2 separate regions of the Homo sapiens genome follow, and region 2 is linked to region 1. The links are contacts of gene promoters, found by promoter capture Hi-C in blood cells and fetal thymus (Javierre and others, 2016). All regions are on one chromosome and are shown on one strand. Each heading gives the region's core, a stretch centred on a gene start or on the middle of the fragment in contact. The rest is flanking DNA. Distances are from core to core; before and after follow the strand shown.

The links. Contacts are between HindIII fragments. The CHiCAGO score rates a contact against its expected background, and 5 or more counts as called.
Region 2: a fragment that was not itself captured here is called in contact with the fragment with the promoter of FBXO32 in region 1 in 1 of 17 cell types (total CD8 T cells); the score reaches 5.1 in total CD8 T cells.

What each region holds. Positions count from the first base shown.
Region 1 is chr8:123,539,025-123,543,903 of GRCh38, forward strand. It overlaps FBXO32 (F-box protein 32), which reads right to left and starts at 2,182. Exons shown (of 9, transcript NM_058229.4): 1 at 1,875-2,182. The coding sequence starts at 1,990. RefSeq lists silencers at 2,079-2,168, 2,219-2,328, 2,419-2,708. The HindIII fragment of the contact is 4,426 bases long and covers 1-3,520 here.
Region 2 is chr8:124,462,795-124,467,673 of GRCh38, forward strand. It overlaps RNF139-DT (RNF139 divergent transcript), which reads right to left. Exons shown (of 2, transcript NR_108047.1): 2 at 1-4,864. Among named protein-coding and RNA genes, the nearest start is that of RNF139-DT, 9.3 kb to the right of the region's middle. The HindIII fragment of the contact is 2,374 bases long and covers 1,509-3,882 here.

The DNA of each region.
Region 1 (4,879 bases), core at 932-3,431:
AGACAGGGTCTCGCTCTGTGGCCCAGGCTGGAGCGCAGTGGCACAGTCATGACTCGCTGCAGCCTTGAACTTCTGAGCACAAGCCATCCTCCCACCTCAGCCTCCCGAGTAGGGTAAGTATTAATACGACCCTACATTTTAAATCTTCTGCTGAACTCAATCATCTGTTCTCCACTGAGGAGCATCCTGCAATTATATTTGGGTGAGCAGCTCTAACATGACTCTTCAGACCCTTTCGGCACTTTTCTAGAAAGAACCTGAACTTGTATACAGAAATAAAGTACCAACATATTAGATCATTGTCCTTAGGAACAAGGAGGAAGGAAGGAAGGTTCCCATTTTGTTGAGGGAGAATAATTTAGGCATAATTGGTAACTCCAGTCGATAAAAGACATAGTCTGTCAATAGCAGTTGGTCTTACTTTCCCGTAAATAAATTACTTGATTTTACGTAAATAAGATTTCCTTATGGTGGTCCCTAAACTCCCCTGGGACAGCCTCCAAGTAACTCCAACGTAAATGGTTATATGCTGGTGGTTAATACGCTCAAGTCTCTCCGGACAGACCCCCAGAATTAAATAATGTCTTTCTTTACATTGTGAGACAATGGGAATTTGATGCATTACAAATCACAAACAAATGGGAGGCACGGGAGTTCAAGTTGCCAAAATAACCACATTTTCTTGATAGTTTTCTCAAAATTTATTGCCAATGCTTCATCCAAGCAACGACTGGTAAATCTCAGTAAGCGGGAACCTGGCCCAGAAACAGAATTCTCCATTGAAGTCAATTTAAGGGTGCAGGGGCCCATGGTTTTAACCAAAGGTGGCAGGAAAAGGCTCCCAAGGGTGACTCTGGCTGCACCAGTCCATTCTGGAATCACTTTCATCGCCCCCGCTCACCGGGCTAAATGCTGAGAGTCTCTGAAAGTCAACTGTCGAGGTCAGGGGCTGAGAAATTCCAGGCTACCTTGCGTACTAGCCGGCGCTGGCATCGTTAGCCAAGCTGAGCAGGGAGCGCAGCGGACCTCAGGTTTCCCGCCAGACCACAGAGCTCAGGTGAGGCCTCGAATCCAGAGGCTCACCGGGGCCAGGCAGGCTTTTCGCAGCTGACAGGCACCCCTGGAAACGGAGTGCACTCTATACAAAGCAGACCGACCGAGAGGGCCACCGAGGAAACAGGTGCAAGAGCCCTGTCCTCCCAGAAGCAGAGCTCTTGTGGGATTCATCCCCTGCCCCCTTCCCTCCTTTGCACCTCTGCAGCCCCAAGCCTCCACCGCTCGCAAGTCCGCCCAGTAAGCGGCTGCCCCAGGGACCATCTGGCCGTCCCTTCCTGGTTACTCATCCTCCCGGCCACTTCGTGGTTGCCCGTGCCTGGGCAGGGCCTGGAAGCGCTCCAGGCGGGACCTTCGTCGGATCCCGTCACCTGTCGCGTCCACAGCGCTTGGGCGCTGGGAGCCGGGCCACCCCGCGGTGAAGGGGCTCAGCCCACCCGCCCGCGCCCCCACATGGGCAAAGTGCGCGACTCCGGTGTCCTTAAAGCAGGGACCACTAAAGCTGTGTGATTAAGTTTGAGCGAACGTTTGGGGACACGATCCGCGAATGTCATCAGACTCTCAGAGGGACCAGGTGTTCTGTAAGGAGTCGTGTCCACTTGGAGACACTGACCTTGAACAATAAGAGAAACCGAATTCCCTGTCTCCGGTGGTCCGAAGACCTCTGCAGAAATCGGGCCCCGTAGTCCCACCCTCCGGGTCAGGGTCTCCCTCCTCAGCCCGCTCCAGCCCTGCCTGCCCCTCATTCGCCGTCCCTGCGCCCCCCAGACCAGCCCGGGTCAGTTTCGCGGGGGCTGGAAGTTGGTAGCGGGTCCCCTCACCTGCTGAGGTCGCTCACGAAACTGCCGCTCTTCTCATCCAGGAAGCGCTTCCAGCCGTCGGCCGTCTTCACCCAGTTCTGCCCGGGGGACCGCCAGTCCTGCCCGAGGAATGGCATGGCACCGCGAGCGGACTAGACGGATGGGGAGACGGGGCCGGCCTGGTGGGCTCGGGGACGTGCCACCCGGGGCGGATGCTCGGGGTGCAGGGGCCCGCGACGGGGGCGGCGGGGCGGCGGGAACGGCGCGGGGCACCCTGCGGGGTGGCGGGCGCGGAGAGGATCTCAAGCGTTGCAGGCTCCGGGAGTGCTGCGCGGCAGTAGCTGCCGCAGTATTTATCCCCGCAGCCGGCCGCAGCTCTTTGTTGCCGGAAGAGCCGCCCGCTCTTAGCCCGGCCCCCCGGCCCGGAGGCCACGTGGCTTTGTTTATGGGCTCGGCTTGTTTTCCGAGGCGCCTGCGGCTCACGCTCCCCTCCCGGTTGCACAACCGCGCCGGTGGAAACTTGAAGCGGTGCTGCCGGGCCGGGTACCCCGCCGCCCCTGGCACCTCCGCGCGCCCTCCCCGCCCCCAGGACACCGTTGTCCCAGAGCGAGGCCCGGCGCTTGGAAAGATGCGCCCCGGTCTCCTGCAGCTCCCGGGCTGACGGGGTGCAGGGAGGGGGCCGGAGGGGCGTCTGGGTCCCTGCGGGGTGGGCGTGAGGAGCAGGGCCAGCCCCCCTCCTGCCCCCGAGCTATCAGGATCGACCTCCGCAGCCAGATCAGCCTCCCGGGCCGTCCGCAGAGCTGGGGCCGGCACCGCGCCCGCCGGGCGGGGAGTAGGGGGCGCAGCCTCCTGACCTCGCTCACTGCCCCAACCCCGCCCTAGCGCGCGGGGGTTGGAGCGGGGAGGAGGGACAGCCTCCCAGCCCTCCGGGCCCCTTAGCTGTCACTAACCAGTCCTCCTTCAGACCTGCCCCTGGGGCAGCAAAGGAGGGGAAGGAGAGGAAGCCCTGGGAGGTATCTGGCTCCCGCAGGTTGGGAGTGGAGAAAAAGAACAGCGCCCCTATCCTACCCGAACCCTCTAAGAGACGGGTTAAATGATGTACCCAGGGCCAATGCTACAGTACAATCTGAAACTACCCTGTTTGCTTTTACTTTTTGCTGTTGTTACAACAATCTACCCCTGTCTGCAGTGGGAACTCCATGAGAGCTGGTCTGTCTTGTTCCGGAGGCATTTCAGCCCCTGCACCCTGCCAGGCCCAGTGCAGGCCTTCAACAACTATTTGTGTGAATAAGTGAATGGATACGGGAGGCTGCTGGCATGAGGGTGGCTTCTTGCCCTTCATCACCTCTAGTTATGATGCTTTACAGCCTGGTCTATTTGGCAATTAGTTTGCACAGGACAGCAGCAGCAGAGTAAAAATCCCATACTCAAGCATTAGCTTCAAACTTCATTCTTCCATTCTTCTTTCTCTGCAGCCATCAATATCATCTAGTCCACTGACTCGGTGTAATCTTTAAGGCTCAGGCAAAGAAATTGTGTGTGCCCTATGAGGCTACATGTTGGACTGGGAAGACGTTTTTAATAAAGTTTGTTTTCAAGAAGCCAGAGCTTTCTGATTTAGATTTCCCACCGTAAATAATTTATTAGTGTAGTAATAGTAAAAAAAAAGCTTGTAAAAACATTGAAGAAGTCCCAAACAAATGTTAAACACTGTGATGGTGCTAACAAATGAGGCAGTGTTGGGTCTGGTCTCTGTTGGAGGGAATTGGTATCTGCATAATTAAGGGATGTGATTATTATTATTATTATTTTTGAGACAGGGTCTCATTGTGTCACTCAGGCTAGAGTGAGTGATCATGGCTCACTGTAGCCTCAGCCTCCCCAGCTCAAGCCATCCTCCCACCTCGGCCCCAGTCTCCAGTAGCTGAGACTACAGGCACTCACCACTGCACCAGGCTAATTTTTTATATTTTTTGTAGAGATAGGGTTTTGCTATCTTGCCCAGGCTAGTCTTAAACTCCTGGGCTCAAGTGATCCTCCTTCCTTGGCCTCCCAAAGTGTTGGGATTACAGGCGTGAGCCACCATGCCCGCCTGGGATGTGATTATGAACAATGTGGGTTAGTTATGTATTAGTAAGCTGGCTACATACCTGTAGAGACCACAGAGGGCCAGAAGGTAGAAGTTTTGAATTCTAATTCTGCTGGAGCAGCATACTACCTGTCCTCCCTTGGATGAATGACTTAAACTCTTAGGGCCCCATTTACTTAACTGTCAAGAAAAAATGGAGCCAATAATGCCTACCTTTCAGGATGGTTTAAAAGCTGTGGTAGATTGAATTATTAGTACCCATTCTTCCCTCCTTTCCAGTAGCGTCATGTGCCCACACTTTTTGGTGATGTGTATTTTTCTAATTCTTGACAATGGGCTTGGCCATATGACTGGCTTTAGCCAAGGGGATGCTGATGGATGTGATGTGAGCAGAGGATCTGATGTATGTACTTGCCTGGTTGGTCTTGATGTTTTGTGTGTTCACCTGCTCCATGAAAAGAGCATACCCTGTGTAGCCACTGCTCCTGGAGTGGTTTGAGTGACATCCGTGTGTCCCAGGATGTGACACATGGAGCAGACACTCCCGTTGACCTCACAGATGTGTTAGCAAGAAATAAATGTGTCTTGTTGATGCCACTGAGATTTTTGTGATTTACTGTTACACAGCATTATTGTGTCGATAGCTGACTACTATAAAGGGTTGAGTGGCTCAAAGTTGGTGAAAGTTTCTTTAACTTCTAAAATTCAAGCACAAATAGGAAATTACAATTATTTTTGTCCTTGTCTTTTTGTCTAATAACTAATCTTAGGAAGCCTCAGTGTTTGTCTCTAGTCCTTCCGCTTTCTGTTCCTTAAAACAAACAAACAGAATTGTTGCTATCATATCTTAATGCAGGCTTCTTCTGAAGTGTGATTGACTATTTCAGATTTCTCTTACCATAAAAAAATCTAATTTGAGACTTCTTTTTTTTTTTTG
Region 2 (4,879 bases), core at 1,446-3,945, 920 kb after region 1:
TTTGTTTGTTTTGAGATGGAGTCTTGCTCTGTTGCCCAGGCTGGAGTGCATTGGCACAATCTCACTGCAACCTCTGCCTCCTGGGTTCAAGCAATTCTCCTGCCTTAGCCTCCTGAATAGCTGGGACTACAGGTGAGCACCACCACTCCCTGCTAATTTTTGTATTTTTAGTAGAGACGGGGTTTCGCCATGTTGGCCAGGCTGGTCTTGAACTCCTGACCTCAGGTCATCCACCTACCTTGGCCTCCCAAAGTGCTGGGATTACAGGTGTGAGCCACTGCACCTAGCCCAGAATGTTTTATTTTTCTTATTATGGGTTGTATTTTTCTGTTGCATGCCTGGTAATTTTTGATTGGATGCCAGCCATTGTGAATTTTACTTTGTAGATTATTTTCATATCCCTAAAACAGTTTGAACTTTCTTCTGGAGTATGATTAAGTTATTTGGACACAGTTTGAATGTTTTTGGGTCTCTCTTTTAAGCTTTGTTAGGTTATTCTAGAGCATTTAGTCGAGGGTTAATTTTTCCCGCTATTGAAGCAAGACCTTTCTTAGTACTCTAACTGGTGCCTTGTGAATTAGGATCTTTTCCACTCTTGCTGACGGGATCAGGAATCATTCACCATCCTGTGTGAGCTTTGAGTATTGTTTTCTTTAATCCTTTCTGATGGTTCTTTGCCAAGCCTTTGGTTATTTCCTCTCATGCATGTACTAATCATTATTTAGCTTAATACTTCAGGAGAATGGTCAGCAGATCTCTGGAGTTCTCTCTGTGTCACTCTGTCCTCTCTAGTATTCTACCCTGTGAACTCTAGTTGCCTTGGGCTCTCAGGACTCCCACTTATATCTCCTCACCTCACAGAGTCTTCTGGGTTCCCTCTCCCCATGCCAAAGCCTTTCTTCAGGCAGCAAGTTGGAGCAATTGTATTGCTCACCTTGTTTGCATTCCATCTCTCATGGATTACTATCCTTCACTGCCTATGTCCAATGCCTTCAGGGCCATTGTTTCATATATTTTGCCCATTTAAAAAAAGTATTTGGAAGTTTATAATTACTTTCTACTTAAATTTACTAGCTGTCACAATCATTACTGAAGAAATTCACTCTTGCAATAATATACATATGTACTTCATTTGACACAGAATTTCAACATGTAAAGCATATAAGAATTTCTTGCCACAATCATGTTTAGAATGCTTACCTATAAGGTGAATATTAAAATATTAGTAAATACAATGACTTTTTTCAGATTAGACATGATAAATAACCTGCAAGGTTACTTGACCATTGGTCACACAGAATTTCAGAGAGATCAGAACCAGTGTCAAAATAGGTATTTGTCTTTTTGGCTTTTTAAAGGTCAAGGTTGAATCAAGGGTAAACGAAAATATTGCATGAACATGAAGCTAAAATTGAATTTTATGTAACACAACAACAGCACTGGGTAAATAGAGATAGGTGGATAGACTGTCTCAGTTTCTTTTTAATAATTTTTATTTTTTTAATCGAAGCTTTACACATAATTTAAAAACTCAAAGGTAACAAAACCTAATATGAAAAAAGCCCACCATGATGAAGCAGCTGTTCTGCAGGTGTTTTGCCCTCATTCTGTGTGTCTACTTTCAATTCCAAATGGGCTTATATGACCAAAGAGATGCAGGATCTAACCAACATGTACCAACAGGAACCATGAGCATGTGTATGGAACTGGGTCCTGAGAGTGCTGGACAAGAATTAAGTTTGTGTTTATATAGGACAGCAGTACCCATTTATAGTATTGGCTTAGGGTTATGTTAACTCTTCCACACTGCGTCATAATCCGAAGAGATCTAGACCATCTAAACATCCCACATAATGTCACAATGACCTACCACATTGATGACATCATGCTAGCTGGATAAGGTGAATAATAAGCAGCTAGCATACTGTACACTGGAGGATGGGAAATAATCCTTAAGACCCAGCAAGCTGTTACCTCAGTGAAACTTTTAGGGCCCAGTAGGCTGCTTGAATGCCAAGATATCCCCTTCACAGTAAAGGACAAATTATTGCATCTCACCCACTCATTTCACCAAAATTATTCTGCCACCAGGGAAGCACACCAAGCTGTGTAGGCTTCTGTGGGAATTCAGAAGTTGGCAGTACTGTTCTGACTCGTAAACTGGGTGAGATAGAAATCTGCCAGTTTTCAGTGGGATCCATAGCATGTAAAAGTTCTCTAGCAGGTATGGTGTATTTAGCCCTGTTGCATGGACCAATTCAGGATATTCTATGGGACAAGAGTAAATGTGATAAGAAGCCATGAAAGTTGAAGGCAAGCTCCAATGGGAGAATCACAAGGTCGACTCCTGGCATTCTGTGGCAAGGCTGGGCCATCTGCAGTGCAAAATCCCAAAAACAACTCTATCCATGCTAATGTGCCTTGGTAAGAACTGATTATGGACATCAAGTGACCATGTAGCCAGAGAGGCCCATCATGAGCTGGGCAAAGGCAGGTGGTCAGGCTCCCATGTCATATCTGATTCTTTACCAATGTCCCTTCCTCAGCTCACAATTATGGCCACTTGGGAGGCTCTCATGTCTAGCTTATGGAGGACAAAAAAGCCTGAGCTGAATTCACTGAGGTTTCTTGGAATATAGGTTCAAAACAAAAATGGACTGCTACTGCCCTACAGCCCCACACAGGACTGGCCTTAAAAGACAGCAGTAAGGAGAACCCTCCCAAAAGGCATAATGTGGGGCAGTATTCCTGGTCATCAACTGTGTGTGGAAAGAAAGTGTCTTGAACTAAGAACATATTTTCATGGCAAATAAGTTGGCTAGTTGATCAGGGGTCTGGAATAAGACTGGTATATCAGGGACAAGAAGTCTGGAGAAGCAGAGGAGAAATATATCAGATATGGCACATAAGGAGGGCTTTTTGTATTGTATAACACAATCTTTATCTGCCAGAGACAATCCAACATGTAAGCAGCATTAAATAACCAAGTAGACAGATTTAGCCAGTAAACTTCAGCAGCTACAACCATCGGCTCCACCGCCCCCTCCCTCCGCCCCCAGGAATGGCACAGGGGGCTTATGACAAAGTAGTCATCTTGCAGGAATGCAAGTGAGCAAGAAGCCAATAGATAGCCTCCACTTATCCAATAGCCACTCCCCAGGCTGGGCGCGGTGGCTCCTGTCTGTAATCCCAGCACTTTGGGAGGCTGAGGTGGGCGGATCACCTGAGGTCTGGAGTTTGAGACCAGCCTGACCAACATGGAGAAACCCCGTCTCTACTAAAAATACAAAATTAGCTGGCCGTGGTGGCGCATGCCTGTAATCCCAGCTACTCACGAGGCTGAGGCAGGAGAATCCCTTGAACCCAGGAGGCAGAGGTTGCAGTGAGCCGAGATGGCGCCACGGCACTCCAGCCTGGGCAACCAGTGAAACTCCGTCTCAAACAAAACAAAACAACAACAACAACAACAACAAAATAGCCACTCCCCAGTGTTAAACACCAAGTTCCTGATACAGCACCAACCCTCAAGGATACCAAACAGCTACTTGGGCAGCAAATTGATTTATGTTGGATTCCTTCCATCCTAGAATGGGCAGTGATTCTCCTTGACTAGAAACTGCCCATCTGCATGTATGAGTTTGACTTCCTTGCCTATAAGTTGTTGGCCAGCTCTACTACTCACAGGTTTACAGGTATTTGATCCATCAACATGTATCCTGTGTAATATTGCCTTTGATTTAGGGATGCACTTTACAGCAAAGGAGGTGTATCAGCAGGTACATAACCATGAGATCCACTAGTCCTATCACATACTATATAACCGAGAAAATGCGGGTCTGATGGAATGATGAAAAACCCTTTTGAAGGTGAAACTGAAGCAAAAGCTTGAAGATAATAGCCTGTGAAAATGGAATGACCTTGTCCACCAGGGTACAGTATATACTCTAAATCAACACTCATTTTATGGTGCTGTGTCTCATATATACATAACATGCATGTTTGGGAATGAAAGGATATAAATAGAATTCCTACTGTGTAGTAGGCTGAATAATGGCCCCCAAATATGTTCAGATCCTAATCCTGGATTCTATGAATATTTTACCTTCAAGATAAAAGAGACTTTGTGGATATGACTAAGTTAATGATCTCAAGATACAGAGATTATCCTGGACTATCCAATAGGCCCAATATAATCATAAAGATTCTTACAAGAGAGAGGCAGATTTGCCTAGTAGATGCAATGACTTAAGCAGGAGGATGGGGTGATATGAGTAAGGGGCCATGAGCCAAGAAATGTAGGTAGCCTCTAGAAATTGAAAAAGGCAAGGAAACAGACTTTTTCTTGAAGACTTCAGGAAAAACAGTCCAGTTGATATCTTGATTTTAGGCTTCCAGAACTGTAAGAAAATAAATTTGTGTTGTTTGAAACCACTAAGTTCGTAGTGTCATAGCAGTGATAGGAAATTAATATAACCACATACTCTCACTCCCAGTGACCCAAGTGGGGAGTTTGGACTTCTCATCCCCGCAACTTTGTGAATTAGAAGTCCTGATTCCCAAGAGAGGAACCTTTTCATCAAGAGACACAATAATAGATCCTTTAAACTTTAACTTGCTGAGGTTTCCCGGTTCAAGGTCCTTGTGCTAGGAGACCAGCAGGCAAGGAAGAGTCACCATGTTAGTTGGGGTAAATGAATCCAATCATCAGGAGGAAATAGCGTTATTGCTACACGATGATGGCAGGAAGGAATATACCTGTAGTTTACACTCAAGACCATATAGTGGTCTCTTGATATGTCCCAATATCAAGTAAAGTGGACAACTTCCAAAACAGCAGGGTAAACATCTCCAAATACTGGCTTCTCTATAAAAGCAATGA